2 separate regions of the Homo sapiens genome follow, and region 2 is linked to region 1. The links are contacts of gene promoters, found by promoter capture Hi-C in blood cells and fetal thymus (Javierre and others, 2016). All regions are on one chromosome and are shown on one strand. The core of a region is centred on a gene start or on the middle of the fragment in contact, and the rest is flanking DNA. Distances in the headings are between cores, read along the strand shown.

Region 1 (6,332 bases), core at 1,379-3,878:
TGATTAAGATCTAGAGCCCTGGGTTCTCAGTGTTCTCCTAAGATGGGACTACACAAGAGCAGCCTTGCCTCAGCCCCATGGAAGGAGCCCCAGCCTGCCCTCCTCCAAGCCCATGCCCTGCCTCTCTCACTGTAAACCCTCTCCACCTTCTGAAAGTCAGCCAAGATCTCCCCCACTCACCACCCAGTAACTACAAGTCTAAAAACAGGCAGAGATGGAACAATTGAAAACCCAAATGGCCAAGACAGAAACATTCATTACGTCACAACCACAGGCTGCAATATTAAGTAGCCATTAACAACAGGTGTCAGAATTTGTATTATACTCAAGGAAATGTTTACAATATGAAGTTGTGGGGGCAGGGGGAAACAGCATACAACTTGACTGTGTAGCACTATCTCCATCTTGTAACACAGCATATACTTGCATACATGTGCACATACACACAGAACTGAAAAAAGGAAATAAATACAACAATGCAACAAAATATTTGTAATGGTTATCTAGTGATGCAACTATGGGTGCTTTTTACATTCTCCCATATACATTATATATGATTCATATTTTCCTACAATGATATGTTTCAATTTATAATTTAAAAAACTACAAGTAATTTTTTCTTAACCTCAGGACAATAAGACATTTCTTATGAAGGATGGTAACAACAATCCTTTGTATCTGTGTAGGCTTTACAATTTTTACATGAACCTTTACCTAACATGTCTGATTTCATCCTCATAAACCTGAATGTGATATTACTATCCCCATTTTACATCTGGGCTGAGGTGCTTTATTTCCTAAGTCACAGTGTTCTGTACCAAACCCTGCCACTGCACCTTGTCTTCCATGTCCCTCTCATCTTCTGCGCACCAAGAAAGTAAACTAAAAACATCAACAAAGATCCCAGCAGCATAGAGGGCCAATAAAGTGATTGAGGTGGAGACTGCATAACATCCACTCTCAAACACACCTAAATCAGAGTTCTCTTTCTAAACACTCTTGCCACCCAAATCCCAACGCCTGAAGAACCACCTTAGCCTAGTTGAACTCATCTTGGTATCTCTAGCTGCCATCACAGCAAAATGTAAGGCCTGTGTCTCTAACAGGTACTTAAACAGCCAAAGGACAATGATGCTAACCTATCTATTCCCCTCACAGTGAGCATAGAGGAGGGACACTTTCAGCCTCCTCCGAGCATAACTGTCCTCTCCCATACCCCTATTCTAGGGAGCAGGTCCTCCATAAACACCCTCATTGCCACCTCCATAGCTCCTCCCCAGACTAGTTTCCAGGGGCACTGCCACACAAAAGCCGAGATTTGGCCGTCAGTGGTTTTGCTCAGGTTAAAACACACGCCATTTCTCGCAGACAATTCTTAGCAGTCCCAGCTCTTCCCTTTCTCCTGAAAGAAATGAAATGCCATCGTCTAAGTTCCGTTCCTCAGGCTTCCCTGTTTAGCCCTGCTTAGGGGTAAACTGCAGGCCTCTAGTCAAAATGCCCACACCCTTCCCTTCTGCTGGATGGAAGCTGGGGGATGGCGAATGGGAGTTACAAGGTATTGAGTGCCACTGTCATACATCATACACACGTCTCATCCTAAACCACACTCCTGGGTCAACACCAGCTTTCACCAATCCCACCCAAGCGCCTTCCTCTCTCTATCCATCTCTTTTCCCTGACTTCCACTCTTGACATCCACCAAGAGAACAGGTTGGAACAGGATGACCCCTTTACCACAAAGCAGGCTCCCTGTAAAGAGTGACACCTCAGGCCTCCTTTCCAAGTCAGGCCTGGGAGACTTTCCCCATTCTCCACACCACCCTCCAGCCCCTTCGGGCAAAGAGGGCCCACCCCCAGAGCAACCACACCCCAGCGCCACCCTCCCCAGCACCTAGCTCCGCTCCTTGGAAATCCAAGGTTGTCTCCCAGGCCCAGGGCGAAGGGCCTAACTGTGCCAAACAGACTCAGGGAGGGAAGACAAACCGCCAATGCTCCAAAGCTCCTGGCCACCCTCACTCCAGTTTCCCAAAACGCCCACTAGGATCAAGGACCTGCGGACCTGGGAAGTCCCCTCTCTGGGACACAGGGGCCAGCCGCAAGTTGGTAAGACTGAAGGGGGCGCGGTGCTTTAGCTCTACCGGATAGTGGGGTTGTTGACGGCCGAGAGCAGTGCCCTCCGCTTCGGCGGTGGGGGTAGGGAGAGTAGACACAAGTGTAGATTCGAGAGGGGCCTAGCGCTACAGAACTGAGGCCGCCCCAAAGCTATCTGGAAAAGGGCGACAGGCACCCAGCCCCAGTGGGTACCCACCCCAAACACACAGATGCCCCCAAGCAAGTTCTCTCACCCCCTACAAACTCCGGGGATGGGTCCTACCCCACCCACGGGGGAGCCTCTCCTCCCTCAAGCTGGTCCCCAGAAGTTGGCGTACCCACCTTTGCTCAATCTGTCCACCAGAAGCGGACGTCCCTCCGAACCAAGTCCGCAGCGAAGATCACCCGTCGCTACCACGCTCCTCGACGTCTTAGCCAAGGGGCGCCTGGCTCTACCCAAGTAGGGACTGCAGGTTCCTCTCCCCGTCCCGCACCAGCCCTTACCTGCCCAGCCCAGGTGCGCCGAGCTCACGTCAGCGCCTCGCCCCAGGACGCCGCAGCCTTCGCATCCGCCCGGCCACGCCTCCCAGGTGTGGCCACGCCCCCCGGCGTTCGGGATTGGCGAGTTGCAAGAAATATGACACTCCGCGTTTCTGGGCTGCCCGGCCCAGCGGCGTCCGTCCAGCGTCCCACCCTACTCCTCCGCTTCTAACTCCGGCTAAGAAAGTCCCAGATTCAGGCCTAGCCTTACGGCTCAGGGCTGGTGGTCCTGGGAACTGGAAGCGACTGGGAGTTCAGATCTAAGTCGAGAGGGTGCCTCCCTCCTTCACGGCCCATAATTACCCTGCAGTATGCAGACAGTTAAGCACAAATAAGGGTTTTGAGATTCTGGGTTGGCCCTACTACTCGTGGGCCTGTGTAAGTGGAGTTGCACATGAAGAAGAGAACCAGGACACTTGGTCCTGTCTGGGAGAAGCCATAGGCTTTCAGGACTAGAATTCTACCTTTACTCTGCCTCTTACCCGTGTGACCCTGGGTAAGTTACTTAGCTTCTTGGCTTCTTGGTTTCAGTTTCCTCATCTCTTCAATGAGAATAATAATTCCTTCCTTCTTTTTTGTTGTTGTTTGCTTTTTTCTCTTTCTTTTTTCTTCCTTTTTTTTTTTTTTTTTTTTTGGAGATGGGGTCTTGCTATTAAGTTACACAGTCTGGTCTGCAACACCTGGGCTCAAGGGATCCGCCTCAGCCTCGCAAAGTGCTGGGATTACAGGCACTGGCACCCAGTTCAATTCCTTTTTTTTTTTTTTTTTTTTTTTTTAGGCAGGGTCTGGCTCTGTCATCCAGGCTAGAATGCAGTGGCACAATCATAGCTCAACCTCCTGGGCTCAAGCAATTATCCCACCTCACCCTCCCAAGTAACTGGAAATATAGGCATGGGTCACCATGCCCGGCTAATTTTTTTTTTTTTTTTTTAGAGACAGGGTCTGACTATGTTGCCCAGACTGGAGTTCCTGCTTCCTCTGATCACTATCGTGTAATGAGTAAAAGCATAGCCTCTGGAGCCAACTATTGGGGTTTAGACCCCAACTCCATCAGTTACTACAGACTTGGGAAAGTTTCTTAAGCTTTTTAGGCCCTGGTGTCTTATCTGTAGAAAGAGGTTAGTAATAGTACCTACCTCAGGGGTATTGTGGGAATTCAATAACTACATGTAAACTGCTTGCAACAATATTTAGCACTTATCAAGTGCTTTATATGTACTTGCAATTATTATTGGCATAAAGATTAAAAATACCATATAGACAGTGCGTCAGAGAACAAGAAGGCATTCCTTGTTATTACCTGAAATTCAAGTCCTGCATGTACCCTAACAGGTGCTTGATGAGATTGCCCTCACCTTCCTCATCTATCTAGAGGACCGGTTTGCAGGAGGCTGTGCAACAGTAAATGAGACTTTTAAAAATCCCCCACCCTCAACCACTGAGCTGTCGTAGGTGAAATGGGGCATGCGCAGGTCACTTAGGTTTTGGTGTTTAAAGTAATGAGTGAGAAACTGTGGAGGAGTGGTACAATGAGTTGAACTGTCACCCACATACAAAAAAATTTGTATTTGTATTTTGAAGTCCTGACCACCCCCACTGCAACCACAGCCAGATGTCAGAATATGACCTTATTGGGAGACAGGATCCTTATGGAGGTAATCAAGTTAAAACGTGGTTATTAGGGTGAGCCTGAATCCAATATGAATGGTGTCCTTATAAAAGGAGGAGATTTGGACACAGAGGCAGATACCCACAGAGGGAAGGTGATATGAAGAGACATAAAGAGAAGACAGCTAGCTGCAACCCAAGGAGAGATACCTGGAATAGAGCTCTTTTTTTTTTTTTTTTTTTCACATCCCTCAGACCCTTGATTTTAGACTTTTAAACTCCAGAACTATGAAACAAAAAATTTCTGTTGTTCAAGCCACCCACTCTGAGGTACATTGTTATGGTAGCCCTAGCATACTCATACAAGTGTGTTGAAGAGCCCCAGATTGATAATAATGTAGGCATGATTCCAAGTCCCAATTTAGCTTTGGAATGTAGCCAGCAAAGGCCTGGGAAGGCAGCAAGGCCCCAAGGCCTGACTCAGCCAGCCTCTGTCTCAACCACTGCCCTGTGGCCACTCTTCCCTTCACTGGGGGAAGGGCAAGCTCATCAGCACAGCTAGCTGTTTACTGCTGATGAGCTCACTAGACAAACAGCATCTTCCATCTGGCCCAGGGCTGGGCTCTGGGGACCAAACAAGCTCCACTGCAGGTGTATGAGAGGGATGAGGGGTAAGGCCATTGGGAGAGTGTCATTTGAGGGGAGTCAAAACCCCAGTGGCATACAAGTATGAGCCCACACACAGGCACTCACTTTTGCACCAGCTGAAATTCCCATGACTAAGGGGATGTCTTAAGGACCTTCTTTAGAAGACATATATTTTGGAATCAGAAAACTCAAGCTGGGAGGGTTCTTCTGGACTATCTAGATCAAGACTAAAACTGACTTAGCCAGTTTTTACCCACACAGTATTTTAAATATCAGGAGGTATCACATAAACATCAAAATTCTCAGCATCTCTTAAAGAGTCAAGTGCCCTGGATGCTCTACCAGCAGTTCTACCTGGCAACAGTTGCCCATTTAGAGGGAGTCTACACGTTACAGCCAATACAAACTCACTCTATTGAGCTCACTAATTTACTTTAATTGCCTGACCCTGTAGGCATCTGATTGCAACTTCTAGTCTAAATTCTCCCTTTTCATAGATGAGAAAACTGCGGCCCAGCGAGGTCAAGTGATTTACTCAAGGTCACATGGCATATTAGCCACAAACCAAGACTAGAACACAAACCCGGGGCTCTATCCACTTGGACCCCTGCTCAGCTCCGCAGCCAAAGTCTATTCTGACCTGTTCTGCACTGGCTGTTAACGATTTAAAAAAAAAAATCGCCAGGTGCAATCGCTCACACCTGTAATCCCAGCACTTTGAGAGGCTGAGGCGGGCAGATCACCTGAGGTCAGGAGCTGGAGACCGGACCGACCAATATGGTCAACTCTACTAAAAATACAAAATTAGCCAGGCTTGGTGGCGCATGCCTGTAATCCCAGCTACTCGGGAGGCTGAGGCAGGAGAATTGCCTGAACCCAGGAAGTGGAGGTTGCGGTGAGCCGAGATTGCACAATTGCACTCCAGCCTGAGCAACAAGAGGGAAACTCCATCTCAAAAAAAAAAAAAAAAAAAATCACCCATGGATCTAGGTACTGTTGATATTGTTGATATTGCCATAAACAAAACCAAGTCCCTACTCTCATGTCACTCAACTGAAGAATTAATGAAAGGGGGTAAAGCAGGTGGAATTAAGGTAGAGATCAGGAGGAACTCCCCGGCTCTGCAGGCAACAAGCCCTGACAATAGGCCACCCTGATGTCTTCTATTCTGATACACGCCTCATCTGCTTGATCTGGGGAATAAGAACATCTTGTGAGTCTTTCCACAAGCTCTTGAGGAATCAGTTCTTCTGTATTCTCAAAAGAGCCTCTTCAGGATTCAGTCATTCCCAACATGCCCTGGGCCTGCAATGCTCCCATCATTTTGCCCTCCATTGATAATCAGGTGCGGCATTGCTGACTCACTAGTGAGTCTGAGTTTCAGGTAGTGGGACGTACATTTCAGCACGGGGGCCCTGATTCACAGCCACAGGGAATGAGGGAAT
Region 2 (6,332 bases), core at 2,022-4,521, 98 kb before region 1:
CCATGCGTCTCATTTTGGAGGAATAGGTTTAAAAAACACAGGGGTGCTTGAGTGTTCCTGAGGACCAAGATGTGTTCTTGATCCTCAAAGTTGGTGAAAATGAGGGAACCCTGAGTTAAGATGGTATTTTTGTGTCCTCCAGCTACAGGCTGTGGACAGGGGGGACTGTGTAGGAAGGGTAATCGTGTAGCCAAAATCTAGCCAAATAGGCCATGCTTTATTTGGCACCCTTAATGGAAAGCAGTTTCAAATCTTCTACAAAAATGAGAGTAATACCCAAATTCACAACTCAGCAGCTAATTGGGCTCTATGAAGAGACTGATAAGTGGGAGGCAAAAAAAAAAAAAAAAAAAACTGGAGATGATGACTACATAGAAGTGAGGGAAAATCCCTGGAATTTCTATGAACACATGTGTTTTGATTCCTTGTTAAATGTACTTTCAATTGAGCAAAATTGAAAGAGTCCAGAAATGTCTGGAACTCCAGCATTTTAGCTGAACCATGACTTTTCTGGCTTCATCCTATGATCTCTTTCCATGGAGGTTTTTAGAAATGACAGTAGGGAGGCTGTCAGCCCAAACCTCCCACTTCAGAGCATGTTTATGAAAGACCTGGCCTGTTCCCACAGTGATTTACGGAGTTTGTGACAAACTGATCTGGGCTCATAACCTTTAAGTTACAAATTGCGATAAGCATGCCTATATCCAGAGAGGGAGAAGGAATTTTGCTGCCAACTTGGGTATGGTCCTCACTTCCTTTTGGGGTTCCCCAGAGATGCTCCAAGGAAAGAAAGTGATTGTCACAGGGGCCAGCAAAGGGATCGGAAGAGAGATGGCTTATCATCTGGCGAAGATGGGAGCCCATGTGGTGGTGACAGCGAGGTCAAAAGAAACTCTACAGAAGGTGAGGGTTCTATGCTCGCAGATATGTGTACCGTCACATGCTCAGATGTGTTCTTATATATGCTCACATATACACAGAAGCTAGCATATCGCAGATCTATATACAGAGGCACATGCACACACACAGACACTTAATTTTGCACTCTCATATATAGATTCAAACACCAAAAAACCCACAGGAATATAAAAGTATGCATTTAAGCATTCATTCATGTGTGTGTGTGTAATATATTCTGCAACAGAGTCCTTGAGTTATATATGCTCACAGACATGCCTAGTCACACACATTTACACATGGAACTACAGATACATACGGATGTTTTCAAAAACTGAAATCCCAGTACCTGCTTATGAATACATATCCTCATACCCATGCAGACTCCCAGACACATGCCCTCTCATGGACTCACAAACCCAAGGATGTACAAACATTCACAAACCTAGAGCTACCCACATAGTAACCAGCATCTACACTCATAATGCCCTCAGAAATGCCTATTCACAGAAGCCATGAGCATAAATCATGAACTTAAACCCCAGCACTGGGATGATTTATCCATTTGAACCCCACCAAGTTCCAGAAAATATTTCAGACAGAGGACGATGATCATGAGGGTTATATTAGGCAACACACACACAAACATACTTACCATTTCTTACCTAAACAGGGCTGTGAGCAATCTCTCATTTAAGCCCCCCGTTACTTCAGAGACTACCCCCCAAAAATCTGCAGCTAAGACTGATGCCATTTCTGCTGTATCACTGCAGGTGGTATCCCACTGCCTGGAGCTTGGAGCAGCCTCAGCACACTACATTGCTGGCACCATGGAAGACATGACCTTCGCAGAGCAATTTGTTGCCCAAGCAGGAAAGCTCATGGGTGAGGCTGTTTCTCTTACCTCCTCCTCTGAACTTTGCCCTTGGGGTCACCAAGAGCTTTTGGGAGGAGAATGGGAAAGGTATCAACCCCAGATGATTTCTTAATATAGCCATCTCTTGCAGGAGGACTAGACATGCTCATTCTCAACCACATCACCAACACTTCTTTGAATCTTTTTCATGATGATATTCACCATGTGCGCAAAAGCATGGAAGTCAACTTCCTCAGTTACGTGGTCCTGACTGTAGCTGCCTTGCCCATGCTGAAGCAGAGCAATGGAAGCATTGTTGTCGTCTCCTCTCTGGCTGGTAAGTGGGACAGGGACATATGTGGAAGGTAGAAGAAAAAAAAAAATGCCAGGGATGATGCCAGGCTCTGAAGTAGACATAAATTTTTATCAGTTTCCATGCAGAGAAGTAATGAGGGATTGGTCAAGGTAAGTGGGCTACAAAATTCTTTTAAGTAACAGAGAAAAAGCAGTAGCTCTGAGTGCTCATTGGAAGACTGAATTGTTTTCTACAAAGTAAGGTCAAAGGGACTTGAGGGGCTGCTGGAGGTACAGCCTGTCCTGGTCCTAAGGGAGAGACCTAGTTACAATATTAACTTGAAGTTGAAATGTTCATAGTAATATTAAACAAAAGCTGATTAACAGCTTACTCATATGCATGAATGGGCAGATGTACTGATAAGAGACTTGTAGGGGGGTGATTTGTGGACTCAATGAGAGGCACGCATCCTGAGTAAAGGAGACACTGTTACAAACTAGTGACACCATAAAAAATGAAGGATTGGTCAAGGTAGATGGGCTACAAAATTCTTTTAAGTAGCAGAGAAAAAGCAGTAGTTCAGAGTGCCTATTGGAAGCCTGAATTGTTTTCTACAAAGGAAGGTTGAAGGGACTTGAGAGGCTGCTGGAGGTACAGCTTGTCCTGGTCCTAAGTGAGAGACCTAGTCACAATGGATAAAAAGGACTTTGCTTCCTCCATGACCAAAAGGTTGGTGAAGTTATGTAAATGTGAAGGTACAACTGAGAAGTTAACTGTTTTAACAACACACAGGTGTCTGATAAGTGGGCTAAGCTAAAGCTAAATAAAATGAACAACAAGAAAAAAAAAAAAGATGAACAGACCTGCCTATAGTGGGTGTATTCTCTAAAATTTGAACATGTTAACATGAAAAGATCAATTTAAACAACCAGCTGGGTAGGGAGGAAATGTGTCCAGAGAAATGGTCATGAAAAGATATCTGTGGGATCAAGAGAGGTCCCTGGTGTTCTGGATGGTGGTAGCATCAGAAGCCATCACCAGTAAAAAACCAGTGAGTTCCCAGCTTGGGACATTTCTAGGCCCATTTTTATCATAGATCCAGGAGACAAGTTCCACACATCTTTGTTGATTAGTCAGTTAGAAGGATGTGGCTGGAAAGTGCAAACACCAGGATCAAAATCCGCCATCTAAATGTTGTTCCTGGCAAAATAAAAACAAATAACCTAGAGGACTCTGTAAACTGTTAAGCACTTCACAAACATTCTTATTGAAACTAATAGCACCATCTGTATCGTAAAGAGTTCTCCTTTCTGGCCCAGGGACGGCCTGCATAGTGATTGGATAAAGGGGCAGTGTGTCTGTGCTACCCGCCAAACAGTGTGATTGATATGCATCCCGGTGCTTCCCAGACAACACACACTCCCCACCCCTCCCCAGACACAGACTCTCTCTGGGCTGGAAGAAAGGGAGAGCTTCCAGATGCATACTGAGTGGGAGGGTGCTGGGCACATCCCCAATCCATCCCAGGGCATTGGACAAAATCCTCACATCAGTCATGATGTAGGTGGCTTTAATGATTTCAGCTGATTAAATAATACATTCACTCTAGGCAAAGGATGTATTTCACCTTTGACGAATGTAACTTTCTAGAATGTACCCATGATCTAAATGTGCTCAGAAGGACTAAGAATTACTGTTGAGCCCAAGGACGTGATGAAATTCTGATAATCTCTGTTTCCCCATATCTCCTACACTTATTGAATGACACTTGGTAATTTCCATGAACTCTGGGAGGTAGGAAATCTAGCTGGATGAGTATCTTTGGTGTTTATTGCTTGTGTAGCCAAAAGATTCCAGCTTTTTTGCCTTGAAACCTGTCTATGAACTTGCAAAGTACAGACACATTGCTGTCTTGCCGCAACTGAAGAATATTCTCTGCTTTATGATGTATTCTTTTAATCAGTCAGTAAACATGTTCATTAATCCTTCCTCTTTAAAATCTAAACTCTATAAATATGGGATGCTAAACATCAAGTTGATCTTAAGGTCAGCCAAACAGTACTGGGATGGAGTTTTAATCATTTCTTCTAGGGAATACCTTAAGTTGTTTATTGAGTTTCAGTGATAAAGAATTGTTTTTTCTCCACAATGCATTTCTGGGTATTGCATTACATGGGAATACTATACTTCTAATATGTTCCTTAAAGGCTTGGTTACCTCTGTAGCATTAACAGAGACAATACTGCTGCTTCTGGGAACCTCCTTGTAGTCCACATCTATCCACTATTCACCACCTTTTCTTGGCACCTATTGAGCAAGTTTCTTGTATGTGTAACATCCCGTTACATTGATTAGCCTCCTCTCCTTCCACCACTTGCTAGTTAGGATGTAAGTTCAGCTACTGTAACGAAGACCCGAATTTACAATGGCTTAAGCAAATCTAAATTTATTTATCTCACACAAAACACCCTGGAAAGGCAGTCCAGGGCTGATATGGTAGTTCTGTCCTATGAGGCTGTCCAGGAGGCCTTCTATCTCAGAACCACCATTCCTAGAGTGCTTGTTTACACCTGCATGTCCAAGATGGCTCATTGGCATGTCTGAATTCTAACTCAAGAAAATGAAAAAAGAAGGATACCACCTGGAAGGTGTACACTTTTCTTCTGCCACAGCTGGCTGCAATTGTTATCTTTATTCAAAGGGAACATGTGTCCAACTAAAAATCAGAAGTTCTATTTGTGTAAAAGACACTGATATTGATAAACAACTAGCAATCTCTCCCACATCACCCATGCTAAAAAACACATAAGACTAGAAAAAAGTATACCCTCCAGGCCATCCCACATGTGAAACACACACACACACACACACACACACACACACACACAAAAGACTCATTCCCTCTCACATTCAAGGTCCATCACAAAAAACAAAGTCCTTCCATCCGGCAGTGCGTGCAGGGGACAGTGGGGTAGGAGAAAGAATGGAAAGAGAATACCTAAATAGCATTTGTGAAACAAACCAAAGTAGAAATATTAATACTTGAATATGACTAAAAAAAATCACTGGAGTGGGCAGAGAACATTTGAAAACATCTGGAAAAAAGTTTATCTGACATTAGTCAAAATAGGTCATCTTAGGTTCAATATTAGAAAAGTAAAGTTGGTTTCATTTTCGGGCTCCTGGGCTTGGTGAATCCCATCACTGTGGTGTGTGTCATCAGTTGCACACATGGCAGCTAGAACTGAGCATCTAAGGCCATTTCTCCACCTGCTTTATGCCCCTGAGAGGAATCACGGACAAACCCTGTCTTCCTCTGCTCCTTTCTCCTCTCAAAATCTACTTAGCCCCCTACCTCCTATGAAGTCTTTTTCAGAACTCACCAGAGCCATTTCAATGTTTCTTCTTTGTCTTTATCTACTATATTTTGGTAAGTTAACTTTAGAAATCCAACTTCCTCATCATTTCTCTTTTTTGGGTTTATTGGTAATCCAAATACTACTAATACTACTCATAACTACTAATAACACAAATGTTAAACATACTCGGCAAGCATACGTGTAGGGATAGTAATCCTTCTGGATCAAGGAAAATGCAAGGTATATTTTGAAGTGAAACTGGACATCACAAAAGACTCAGTTGCTTTAAATATTCAAAATGAAAATAGATCAGAAGGAATAAAAGAACCTTGTCAATAACCTTTGAATCAGACTTCTCTTGAGAAGCTCCATAAGTGTCTCCAGTTAACTATTCACTTTTCTCCAAGTAAATCTTCTTAAAAAATCAACTTTCCCTATATATAGATAGTCTTATTCAAATGTATTCCTTTCCTGTTTTACTCATTCGCAGCATTGTTTCATACTGTTTTTTAATGTACGTGTGCAGTCTTTCAGGCACTTTGAGTTGAGTTGACTAGCCGGGGGCAAACATTCATAAGACAGTGCTCTGTGGGAAAACTCAAACCAACAGATGAAGTCACTTGCTGGATCTTAACCTATTTGTCAGTGGAGGTCTGCCTGTGTGGTCTAAATCTATTTCAAAAATTCAACATTATGAAGTGGGGGGAGAAAAACAGGTTTTTCAACTACACATATCAACTAACAGGACTTGGAAGACCTATAATGATGTTTTGCATAGACAAGGATATACAGATGTTAATGTCATCCCTGCCTTCAGTTCTGGCATACCCACTCCTTCCTGAAAGGTGGGCCAATGTTTCAATGTATAGCTGTGCCTCAGGTTATTGGGGGTGGGGGGATCCCAAACTCCAGATTATGAACGGGC

What was found. The method cuts DNA at HindIII sites, captures the fragments that hold promoters and counts their contacts. A CHiCAGO score of 5 or more calls a contact.
Region 2: a fragment that was not itself captured here is called in contact with the fragment with the promoter of IRF6 in region 1 in 1 of 17 cell types (neutrophils); the score reaches 6.4 in neutrophils.

The regions. Positions count from the first base shown.
Region 1 is chr1:209,803,514-209,809,845 of GRCh38, forward strand. IRF6 (interferon regulatory factor 6) reads right to left here and starts at 2,629. Exons shown (of 9, transcript NM_006147.4): 1 at 2,434-2,629. RefSeq lists a silencer at 2,551-2,894. The HindIII fragment of the contact is 4,987 bases long and covers 1-3,712 here.
Region 2 is chr1:209,705,039-209,711,370 of GRCh38, forward strand. It overlaps HSD11B1 (hydroxysteroid 11-beta dehydrogenase 1), which reads left to right. Exons shown (of 6, transcript NM_005525.4): 2 at 773-903; 3 at 1,671-1,782; 4 at 1,905-2,090. The region is part of intron 1 of HSD11B1-AS1 (HSD11B1 antisense RNA 1); the gene reads right to left. Among named protein-coding and RNA genes, the nearest start is that of HSD11B1, 3.4 kb to the left of the region's middle. The HindIII fragment of the contact is 7,813 bases long and covers 1-6,332 here.